Regions from separate parts of the Homo sapiens genome. Here region 1 is linked to region 2. Evidence: promoter capture Hi-C in human tissues and cell types (Jung and others, 2019). All regions are on one chromosome and are shown on one strand. The core of a region is centred on a gene start or on the middle of the fragment in contact, and the rest is flanking DNA. Distances in the headings are between cores, read along the strand shown.

What was found. Contacts are between HindIII fragments. The study calls those that stand out against the background at their distance.
Region 1: a contact is called between a fragment that was not itself captured here and the fragment with the promoter of MYO10 in region 2, in 2 of the 25 tissues and cell types used here (dorsolateral prefrontal cortex and spleen).

Annotation. Positions count from the first base shown.
Region 1 is chr5:18,327,284-18,333,458 of GRCh38, forward strand. No RefSeq gene overlaps it. Among named protein-coding and RNA genes, the nearest start is that of LINC02100, 420 kb to the right of the region's middle. The HindIII fragment of the contact is 4,958 bases long and covers 1-4,541 here.
Region 2 is chr5:16,934,547-16,940,584 of GRCh38, forward strand. It overlaps MYO10 (myosin X), which reads right to left and starts at 1,742. Exons shown (of 41, transcript NM_012334.3): 1 at 1,242-1,742. The coding sequence starts at 1,262. The HindIII fragment of the contact is 7,585 bases long and covers 1-2,899 here.

The DNA of each region.
Region 1 (6,175 bases), core at 813-3,312, 1.4 Mb after region 2:
AAGCACATTTTTTAAAAATGATTTTTTAATTCACACATAAAATTTGTATATATTAATAGTGTACATGTTTCAAAATATGTATATATTGTGGAATGGTGAAATCTAACACAAACTTTACCTCACATATTTGTTTTTGTGTGTGTGGTCAGAACAATCAAGAGCTACACTCCTAGCAAATTTCAATACAATCCACTGTTATTAACTATAATCGCCATGTTATTCATTGGATCCCTTGGACTTATTCCTCCTAACTGAATTTTTTTATCCTTTGACCAATACCGCCCTCCACCCCATGACCCCAGACCTGGAAACAACTATTCTACTTTCTGCTTCTATGGGTGCAACTTTTTTAGATTCCTTTAAGTCAGATACATTGAAAGAAAGAGTAAATTACCAGGGGCAGCAATGGGAAGGAAAAAGGAAGTACATCAAAGAGTACATGAGGGCTATAGTTATTAATATTGTATTGTATTTTGAAAATTTGCAGAAAGAATAGATGTTAAGTGCTCTTACTACACACAGACACACACACACACACACACACACAAAGGTAAATATAAAAGGTGATGAATAGGTTAATTTGCTTGACTGTAGTAATTATTTTTTCTTCATATGTATATCAGAACATCATGTTGTACAGCTTAAATATATATAGTAAAAAGAAGTGCATTTTTGTCTGATATATGGGATCAAGAATGCATTTATTAAGTACATTATAAGGATGAAAATACTTAAAACTAATCTTGAAAGCTATTCTTAGCTGAAATGTATTAATCTTTCCATAGTTTTCATGAGGATATGTTCATTATAGCTTTTCACTATGTCAAGCTTATTTTATATAATTCTGACTGTGGTGTTTCTTCTCCAGTGGCATATTTATTTATTCTCTTGTTAAAACAATTAAGTATTAAAATTGGTTCTTTGTTACAATTTTATTTCCTCATTTTGTCATTATGTTTAAACTAAACTTTAGTTCATAATAAAAGTTTTCTTTTTTTCCTTTCTCTTGGGGCCTGAATTATTTTCTTTATTTCTTCTTCATTTGCAACTTTTGCTTTCCCATTCCCTGGAAATACAAAACAAAATTTTTAAAGTTATTTGTGTAAAAATGTATTTTTGTCTTACGTGTGTGGGCCAAATTGCATGGTTTTCTTGTCCAAATCATTCGGTTATCTGTTCTACTGAATATAAGTTTCTACATGGCAACCTTCAGTAGAATAATTTTTTTTCAGTACATACTCATTGGTTTATCCAAAAGCACTTTGTATGCTCTTTATTATTTCCTATGCTTATGATTTATTAAATAAATCAGATAGTAATCACATTTAGAGAAAGAATACTTTAAAAAATTACTTTACACAGTTCTTTGCACATTATTTTGTACAAAGAAGGGTATTAATTTAACTCTATAATAATCATATTATTATGTAAGTAACATTTTATATCCAAGTATCTCTTAAAAGCCAAGAATTTATATGGAATTTAATAAATTCTATTAATGATAGTAATAAAATTGGTTGTGATAGAGAACTGTAACAAACCAAAAATAAAAATTGAGAAAAAGGTACTAAAATAAATTCTTCCTCAAGAATCAGCATATGTAATGCAGAGAAATGAAAAATTGGTTTCCCATTATATAAGATGATTGTTAGATTTTTATTTATGTTTCTCCTTTTAAAAACACTTTTTCTCCCTTAAATTATTATTCAAATTTGATTTTTATCTTGAAAATAGGTGTGTGGAGGAGGAGAGGTGTTAATCCAACTAAGGAAATTTCTTTATATAATTATATATTCTGGTGGAAAAGTTTATCTAAAGTTTATCCTTTATTTAAATCCCAGCTTAAGTAAAAGGGTCATTTCTGTAGCTCCTGAGAATATATTTAATACACATTTTGTAAAGCCAAAAAAATCTTGCTTAAATTTTTTCTCCATCTTATATTTTCTTCTCTTTTCTGTCTAGATTAATGTTTACCAAGATAAATCTTGTATTTCCTGTAGAAGGACAGATAACCTGTAACTTATCTGGACATGAAGGTCTATGATAAGACAATTGGATATGGTACCTTCTGCATCCCTCCTGCCCCTTCCAGGACCTGTTCACATTGACATCTTGGGACATATTCACTACTCAGTTGACTCCAGAAATAACACACATTGCCTGTGCATGAGGTGCATGACTTTGCTTTTTCCAAGAGTCCTGCATTTCCATGGAAACCAGAGAGGCAGAAAACAAAGGATAAGTACAAAACATCTCTGAGCTTTTAGAAACAAAGCTGAATCCAGACCAACTGCCTCATCTGAATTCAGCCTGTGAAAACCATAAACCACTCTGACCTCTTACTGCTGAAGGAAGACATGCTCCCTGCTGGCATCCTTCCATGAGAAACACATCTCTTTCTCACATTGGACATATTTTAAAGGCAAGAAAGGCAGGATTTGAGATTTAAAAGTCTAGATTTTTTTCTCTTCTGCCACTCTTTGGTGACGTGAAGTTACCATTTCCATTCTATAAAATGCAAAATTACAAAAGGTTTTAGAATTGCTTCTCATTTGAAAGGAATGTTGAAGGTTATTTAAATACTAAAGTTTAATCAACAGTGGTTTGAAATCCTTAGGAAATACTATGCTAAACAAAATATCCTTGCTCATGGTAGCTTAATCAAACAGCAGATATTTGTCAAATGTAAGGCTTGTTATAGGCAGGTTGGAATATCTTCTATTAGGAAGCTCTATTCTATTCTATCTTCTATAACTGTAGTTCCAGGGGAAAAAATTCTGTGCATGTCTCAGTAATCAGAACTTCAAAGAGGAGTATGCAATTTTAATTTAACTGATGTGAAAAACACTATTAAAACTATGTACATAATCTGTTGTGAAATTTAAGTTGGTTCTATTTGTTAAAAGAGAAAGCCACACAACCAGTTCTTATTAAGATAAAATATAAAAATCTAGGTTTGTGCTAAGTAGCTATAACTGTGCTCCTCTTCCCATCTGAACCCTGAGTCCCACTCTCTAACATTTTAGTCGCTTCCCCTTGTTGTTAAGAGGAATGTTGCTTGGATAATCTGTGTACTCTGGCATCCAAAAAAAGTGAATACAGATGTAGACTGAGTTTAGGTTTAATTTCTTTAGCCATATCTGATGATAGAGTTGAAAGATTCGCTGATACTCTATCAAGTGTATAAAACTGTGTGTGTGCAAGAATGAACTATTCTTTTGGGGGGTGGAATAAGAAATGGGTGTACCAGAGATAGTTTGCCACCACAGAATTTGGATATTAAAGCTATTGAGTAACTATTGCTAATATATGGCATAAAGAAACTCAACCAAAGAAAAGAGAAAGTCAAATAATACATGTACCCCAAAGAATAATAGGTAAGTTAAGTAGATCATGGTATGTTCTACTCAATTGGAACTTCCCCTAGTTCTCCTCAACTCATAGATGATTCTAACATATTATATGTTGTAATAAAGAATGACAAATATAAGAAATGGCATCAAATAATAAAGCTTAAGAAATGAAAGATGAGTCCTGAGAAGAGGTGCCATAAGTTGTAGTGGAAAGTATTTTCTCTAAACCATTATGATGACTATTGTAGTACGTTAAAGAGCAGAACCAAAGACAAGCCTCATACAGGACATTTCAGAAATCATCACTGTGATTAAAAAAATGCATGTTATTGTTAAATTGTATTTTACTTTTATGGTAAGTTCCAGGGTACATGTGCAGGATGTGCAGGTTTATTACATAGGTAAATGTGTGCCATGGTGGTTTGCTGTACCTGTCAAACCATCACCTAGGTATTAAGCCCAACATGCATTAGCTATTTTTTCTAATGCTCTCCCTCCACACCCCCTCCACAGACCCCAGTGTGTGTTGTTCCCCTTTCTGTGTCCATGTGTTTACATTGTTCAGCTCCCACTTATAGGTGAGAACACGCAGTGTTTGGTTTTCTGTTCCTGTGTTAGTTTGCTGAGGATAATAGCTTCTAGGTCCATTCATGTCCCTGCAAAGGACATGATCTCATTATTTTTTTTATGGCTGCATAATACTTCATGGTGTATATATACCACATTTTCTTTATCCAATGTATCATTGATGGGTATTTGGGTTGATTCCATGTCTTTGCTATTGTAAATAGTGCTGCAGTGAACACAGATGTGTGTGTATCTTTATAATAGAATGATTTATATTCCCTTGGGTATATACTCAGTAATAAGATTGCTGGGTCAAATGGTATTCCAGTTCTAAATCTTTAAGGAATCTCCACAATGTCTTCCACAGTCATTTTTACACTAACAATGTAAAAGAATTCCTCTTTCTCTGCAACCTCACCAGCATCTGTTGTTTCTTGACTTTTTAATAATTGCTATTCTGACAGGTGCAAGATGGTATCTCACCGTGATTTTGATTTGCATTCCTCTAATGATCAGTGATGTTGAGCTTTTTTTCATATGTTTTTTGGCTGCATTAATGTCTTCTCTTTAGAAGTGTTTGTTGGTGTTCTTTGCCCACTTTTTAATGGGGTGGTTTTTTCCTTATAAATTTGTTTAAGTTCCTGTGTATTCTGGATATTAGACTTTGTCAGATGAATAGATGGCAAAATTTTTCTCTCACTCTGTAGGTTGTCTGTTAACTCTGATGATAGTTTCTTTTGCTGTGCAGAAGCTCTTTAGTTTAATTAGATCCCATTTGTCAAGTTTTGCTTTTATTGCAATTGCTTTTGATGATTTCGTCATGAAATCTTTGCCTTTGCCTATTTCCTGAATGGTATTACCTAGATTTTCTTCTAGGGTTTTTACAGTTTTGGCTTTTACATTTAAGTCTTTAATCCATCTCGAGTTAATTTTTGTATAAGGTGTAGTAAGGAAAAGGTCCAGTTTCAGTATTCCCCATATAGCTAGCCAGTTCTCCCAGCACCATTTATTAAACAGGGAATCCTTTCCCCATTGCTTGTTTTTGTCATGTTTGTCAAAGATCAGATAGTTTTAGATGTGCAGTCTTATTTCTGAGTTCTCTATTCTGTTCCATTGTTCCACGTGTCTGTTTTTGTACCAGTACCAAGCTGTTTTGGTTACTGTAGCTTTGTAGTATGGTTTGTAGCATAATTCCTCCAGCTTTATTCTTTTTGCTTATGATTGTCTTGGCTATAGGAGCTCTTTTTCAGTTCCATATGAATTTTGAAATAATTTTTTTCTAATTCTGTGAAGAATGTCAACGGTAGCTTAATAGGAATAGCATTGAATCTATAAATTACTTTGGGCAGTATGGCTATTTTCAATATATTGATTTTTCCTACCCATGAGCTTGGAATGTTTTTTCATTTGTTTGTGTCATGTCTGATTTCCTTAGCCAGTTGTTTATAGTTCTTCTTGAAGAGGTCCTTCATTTCCCTTGTTAGCTGTATTCCTAGGTATTTCCCTGTCTTCATAGCAATTGTGAATGGGAGTTTGTTCATGATTTGGCTCTCTGCTTGTCTGCTGTCGGTGTGTAGGAGTGCTTGTGGTTTTCGCACACTGATTTTTGTATCCTGAGACTTTGCTGAAGTTGCTTATCAGCTTAAGAAGCTTTTGGGCTGAGATGATGAGGTTTTGTAGATATATATAGGATCATGTAATCTCAAACAAAGACAATTTGACTTCCTCTCTTTCCATTTGGATGTCCTTTATTTCTTTCTTTTGCCTGATTGCTCTGGCCAGAACCTCCAATACTATGTTGAATTGGAGTGGTGAGAGAGGGCATCCTTGTCTTGTGCCATTTCATGGGCACAAGCTTTTGCCCATTCAGTCTGATATTGGCTGTAGGTTTGTCATAAATGGCTCTTATTATTTTGAGGTGTGTTCCTTCAGTACCTACTTTATCGAGAGTTTTTCACATAAAGGGATGTTGAATTTTATTGAAGGCGGGTACTATTTCTTCTGGAACTATTCCAAACAATTGAAAAGGAGGGACTCCTCCCTAATTCATTTTAGAGGTCAGCATCATTCTGATACCAAAACCTGGCAGAGATACAACAAAAAAGAAAACTTCAGGCTAATATTCCTGATGAACAACAATGCAAAAATCCTCAATCCCTTCTAGAAACACTCACAGACACAACCAGAAATAATGTCTTACCAGCTATCTGAGCTTCCCTTAGCCCAGCCAAGTTGATACATAAAATTAACCATCA
Region 2 (6,038 bases), core at 492-2,991:
AGAAAATGCGAGCGTCTCACAATTATATATATTTCACTTTTTTTAAGAAAAGGAAAAATATGTATTGATGGATAATTCCTTTCTAGTCTTCCTTCCACAATGAATGTGGGTATCACATCTGAAACACCACTTTTAAAAACTAGATATGACTACTAAACAAGAATGCATTTATCACTTTGGCCAGTATGAATAGCTGTCTGAGAATACAGTCAGTGAGCATGCAGAAAGCAGAATGACTTGAAATATTATATCCAATTAAATCAGATAAACCAAGTCGGCTAACACAGAGGCAAGCCCTCATCAATCTGATTTGCTGGAAGACTCCAAAGCGGTTCTGCACTCAGAAAACATTCCCTGGCTTTCAACGAAAATCACATCAGACTCTCTCAAGTCAACTAAGTTTACTTTGAGCCACTTCAAACCTCAAACTTAAACAGAATTTATTAAATAAACACAACCAAGAAAGGAAAGGGAGCCAAGAAACCACAGTAAGTCTCGATCCCAAAGGGGGAAAAAGGGTTCTCAAGTTAAGTTTCAGTGTCCCACCCTCAACGACCCTAAAGAGGGCATCCGTTTCATCTATTAAAATAGCCACTGTTTGCCCTAAACGAATTTTCTTTACATTCGAATTCAAAATCTGCATGGACACTCTACACAAATACATGATCATTTGATCCCAGGGTCTGGAGTTATCCCAAGCCTTAAAAGAGCACTTCTCGGCGAGCAAAGTAACCGATTAAACCCTTGCCTCTCCTTCTCACACTTCATTAAGCCGTCTCCTCTGGAAGTGTTTGAACCCCTGCACAGGAAGCCCGCACGTTTTGCAAAGGAAATACCAGACAAGACCTTTCTTGGAGAAAGGCAGGTCCCCGCTGAACATTTTATTGGGCTTCCTGCACCCGGGCAGTCGAGCGGGCGGATCGCCCCGCCCGCGCCCCGGCGCGCGCCGCCTCACCTGGCGCGGGTGTCCCAGGGCGCCCCGAGAGCCAGCCACCCACGCAAACGGAAACGCACCTTCGCTACCTCCCGGAGCAAAATGCGAGCGCGGGACAGGACGAAACAAAACCTGCCCGGGCTTACTCATCAGAGACTCCGCGGGGGGATGGGGGGTGATTTCAGGAGACTCCCAGAAAGTTGCGCCTTCCAGGGCTTAGGAAAAAGTACCCAGGGCGCGCGGCGTGGTGGGCAGACGCCTCTCTCCCTGGGCTCCGGAGGCCAGGTCGGACTGGGAGCGCACTTACCTCGGTGAAGAAGTTATCCATTGTTCCAGCGCAGTCCCGGACTCGCCGAGTGCCGCTCCGACTCGCGGAAGTCAGCGCCGCCGCGGGTCCGGGGAAACCATGCGTGTCACGGCGCCACTCCCGAGGACGCGCGCCCGCGGGGCTCCCCTGCTGCCATCGCCCGGTCCCTTCTTGTCCTTCTCACCTTTTGTTCGCCCAAACCCAAGTCCCTAACTCGCCCGTCCCGACGGCAGCCTTTGTCTCTTCTTCCTCCAAGTTCCTCACTACTGGGCGCAGCGCTCGCAAGCGGAGAACAGCTGGTGGCACATTCTTCCCCCAGGCGGGGGAAGGCGGCGGGGTGCTGGCGAGCGCGGCCCCCTCCCTCTGCGCTCCGGCCGGGGGCCCTCGGGGCGGGCAGGAGGACAGCGGGCCGCAAAGTGAGCAGGAGCCGCGATCCCCGCGCGAGCGCTTGGAGGTGAGCAGTCCCGCGCCGCGGCTCAGCCAGCTCTCGCCCGCGGGACTACAGCCCAGCGACCTCGCCCCGCCCTCCCGCAGCCGGCCCCGCCCTCCCGCAGCCGGCCCCGCCCTCCCGCTCGCGGCCCCGCCCCCAGGAGCTTGGCCCTCCGCCAACCACACCGTCTGGCCCCGCCCGGGCGGAGCGCCCCGCCCCCTTCCCGACCAGGCCCCGCCCACTCTAAGCCCGAAGCAGCCGCAGGCTCGTTAGCGGACCCGGGAGGGGGCCGCGTGTTTCCCCAGGTCTTCCCACGTAGGCGTGGGGAGGGGATTTAACTCTTCCCTCTGCAGAGAGAGACTAAACAATCACTTAGAGGGGAGGAGAAGGGACTGGGGGCTTCTGTGCCTTTCATGTTTAGCAGACCCGGGAACCGGCTCAACACGGATCTCATTAATGCAGCCCGGTAGACTAGCAATCTCGGGAAGGAAGCGCGGTCAGCGGAGCTGCCGGGGCTGCGGGGCCAGATCAAAGCGGAAGACGGAGGCTAATCAGAATTTCTGGAAGCTGCATTCCCGTGTTGACTTTCTGTCCTGCAGTCGGGTTTGCTTAAGACGTTTGCGTAACAGCGGGGAAATGTAGTTTTGAAACTGGAAGGGGACGTGGCCAATATCACCTTTAAAAATGTAACCCTTTTCTAGACCTCAAGGAAGCAGAGATGGCAGATGGCACTGAGATGGACGAATGATCAAACCCACCTGGCACTGAGTCCCGTTTCCCCTAGGGCAGTTCTTTTAACTTTATGCTGTGCGAGGGTCACCTGGGAACCTTGTTAGAACGCAGGCTGGAACAATCTGCTTTCCAGGTGCCCCTCAGGTGCTACCTGGTCCTGTGCTGAACGAAAGCTTGTAACAAGTAGAGAAATTAAGAGTAAACGTTTGTAGCAATTTAATAATGCCACGACATCCAAGCACATGATCAGTGGACTCTTTGAACCGAGTATAAACCAGTTTGGGTGTTGTCAGACTCACGTGGTGAGTCACACCTGGCGCCGCAGTGTATTGGTACCTGGCCGACTGGGAACAAAAATGGCTGGTTCTTCAGCACAAAAGATTTGAGATGCTCTCTCCAGGGAATTTGCCAACTGCTACTCAACCTTTAAAACTCAGCTCACAAAGTCACACCTTCCAGGGGAAGGAACCCTTCCCAAAGATGCTACTCCACTCACCCCACCCAAGCTCCCCGTAACCACTGGGCTAGATGCCCACTCTAGGATTTATTCCTAAGACTGTTGGGGAAGGACTGTGCTTTAAGATGAGTATCCCCAGGCTGTCTCACAGCATGAATGAATGAATGAAACATCCTTCTGTAATCCTTATGGGGAAAGTCAAGCATGTTTGTAACTTATCCCAGTCCAGTTCTTCACCATTAATATCATTGCTCCCACCTCACTTCCCTTTAGAAAGAGTCAAGGTGTAAATTAGTTAATGATATTGTGCAATGTTGTTCTGTTTCACAGGTTTACACGCTTAAGGCGCTGAGCCATTAAAGCTTGTGTCCAAGGTCGCAAGGAAAGTGAAGATGGAGTCAGGATAAATACCAACAATCCCAGTGCTTAGTCAAATGGGTCCTGCAACCACTGGTGTTCAGATACTGGAGCAGAACAATTACAGTCATTATGGTATTAATCTGCACACAACATCTCTGCCAGAGAAATTACCAGGGAGATTGTTGAAGTGAGTGTGTGGGTGTGACGTGGTTCCCAGCATCAGCCCAGCCACTGATACGTTGGGCAACCTCGCCATGTCATTTCAAAAGTCACTTTCCATATCGGCTCATCAGTTATAACAAATGTACCACACTAATGCAACATGTTAATAATAGGGGCAAGTGAGGGTGAGGGGCTGGGAGGGGTCTATGGACACTCTCTGTACTTTCTGGCCAATTTTTATGTAAGCCTAAAACTGTTTTTTTAAAGTCTACTAATCTTTTAAAGGTGATTTTCCTGCCAATTATGAAGATATCGTTAATAATTGCCCCCAATTTGACTCACGTAAAGAATGGTGAGCCAGATCCAATATATAAAGTTTAGATTTTACTGAATCATTTTATTTCTTCAAAAAGCTTACATCATCAGTTAACAGGGTAAGAAAGTTAAAAAAAAAAACTTACATCAATGTTTTATCAATGTTGATCCCTAGATCACCTTATCAGTTGCTAAAAAGAAAAAAAAACTGACTCCAAATCTCTGTGGCAAATTGATTTCCTAAGAATTTGCATTTTTTATTTCTTTACCTGTGGATTATATTGAAAGAATTTGCATTTTAATAAGCACCCCGATAACCAGTTCAGAGCTTGGGAATCGCCACTTTATCAGAATTCATCAGCTTTTCTATATATCCCCATATTCTCAAAAAGGTGTAAGATAAGCTGTGGCAGCGAAACTCTTACTTGCTGAACAGCAAAATGCATGTTCTAAATAAGATATCTAACCCTCAAGTATCTGGGGTTGAATCAGTTGTTAAAAAGCAGCGTGTTAAATTTATAAGGGCTTTGACAGGATTGGACAGAGACTGGGAAGCATTTTAAATCAATAGATTTCTAAGAATATCTAGTCTTATTACCATTTCTTAAAATTTGAGTGCTTCCTCTGAGAGAGTTGTGCTAACCACTGGACAAAGCAGTTTAGACCAAATCTATTAAACCCTGCCCTCTGAGAAGCGACAGAGGCACAAGAATGGTAATAATAGAAGGATGAGTGTGTTTCCATGAGGCAAAGGTCTGTCTCAACTCTCTGTCCTACCTGTCTTTCAAATAAACCAGGCTAACAGAGTATGACATTTTCAAAATAAAACACCCCCAAAAGCTCAAGTTAAGTTATCTTATTTAGTGGCATACATTAATCTACAATCAACAAAATTTTAATACTGATTGGATCATTTCCCCACTGAAAGAGAGAGTTGCATATGTATATTTGTGAGTTAAGTAATAACAATCTTCTGTTTTTGTTCTCCACCAACAGTTTGTTCGTTTTTAGTTGAAACGGGTTGTCTCATTTCCTTTGTGAATTCAAACTGAGTTCCTTTTGTTGTTGCTGCTGCTGCCATTCCTTGTCTTGATGTGTCTTGGGGCGTAGAGTCTTTTCCATTATCTTTTTTTTTTATTAAACACTCACCCCTTAATTGCCCCTGTTAGAATAATGGCTTAATTACTAGTTATAGAAAGGGAAAGTTCTCAAAGTTTCTTTCACACAAATTAGAAGTTAATAACTGACAATTCTAAAGTCCTTTCATGCTTAACTAAACAGCAGTCCATCCTTTGGGCTCACTTACCCTCTTGGATGTTTAAAACATCAAATGTTTTTACCTTCTCAAACAAAAGGGAATTTTTTTAATGTGATTTAAATTTTTACACAAGTGTTTCTTTTATTTCTCATACCTTAGCATTCAGAAATCCTCAAGGGAATTTTTTTCTGCTGAAACTGAAAACAATTGTAGGTGGTTTCAATAGAATAAATTTGGGAGAAAATACCTGAAATGTTTCACATTGTAATAGAAGTAAGTACAGAAGAATAAACATAGAACTAAAATGGGGAGAAGACACTGGAAGAACTCATTTCTGCCAGCGGTTGTATTTCTCTACAAGATGAGCTAGGGCAAGGATGTCATTCACCTCATTAGAGAGCATGTGATGGACAGTTAATTCTAACTAAATCCCCATCACTTCAAACTACAGCAAGAATGCCTCCTACAGCTGATAGCCTACAAAAATCATGGAGTGTTAGTTTCACAAATTAATCAGTTTTCATGTTTGGGGCTGGTCCTGTTGCGTATAATAAAGAAAAAGTACAAAAATCCCTGAAACCCTGAAAAGCTGCCTAATGATTAAGCCCGCTCGGAGCTATGTTTGACATCTCGCTTTCTCTCTTGATGTTTTTGTGTCTTTATGACCCTCTCTCTTCCATTACTCCAGGGTGGCTCAGAGACTGACTGCAAAGTTTATCATCTCTCTACCATTATTGTTAATCACAACATGTTTGCCACTTCCAAACCTTGTGTCCTCACTTATTCCTCTTGCTTGCATCTTCAGCCTTTCCCACTCAGTATCCAAGCCAATAAACAAGATCGTGTCGGCTCTATTTGAAAACAGCTGCTCGTTAACCCAATTGCTCTCTGAACTACTGGACCATCTCTCTTCAAATGCCCAACTTCTCACTGCTGTACTTCATCCTCCAAGCAATCAACCCTTAAACCCCTCATGATCTGATTTTTGTCCCCCACCCCACTCTCTTGAAAGTCTCTGTAACCTCAAATCATCAAATTCAACAGCCTGTTTTCCAATTTCACTCTCCTTGACATTCCCCTCTT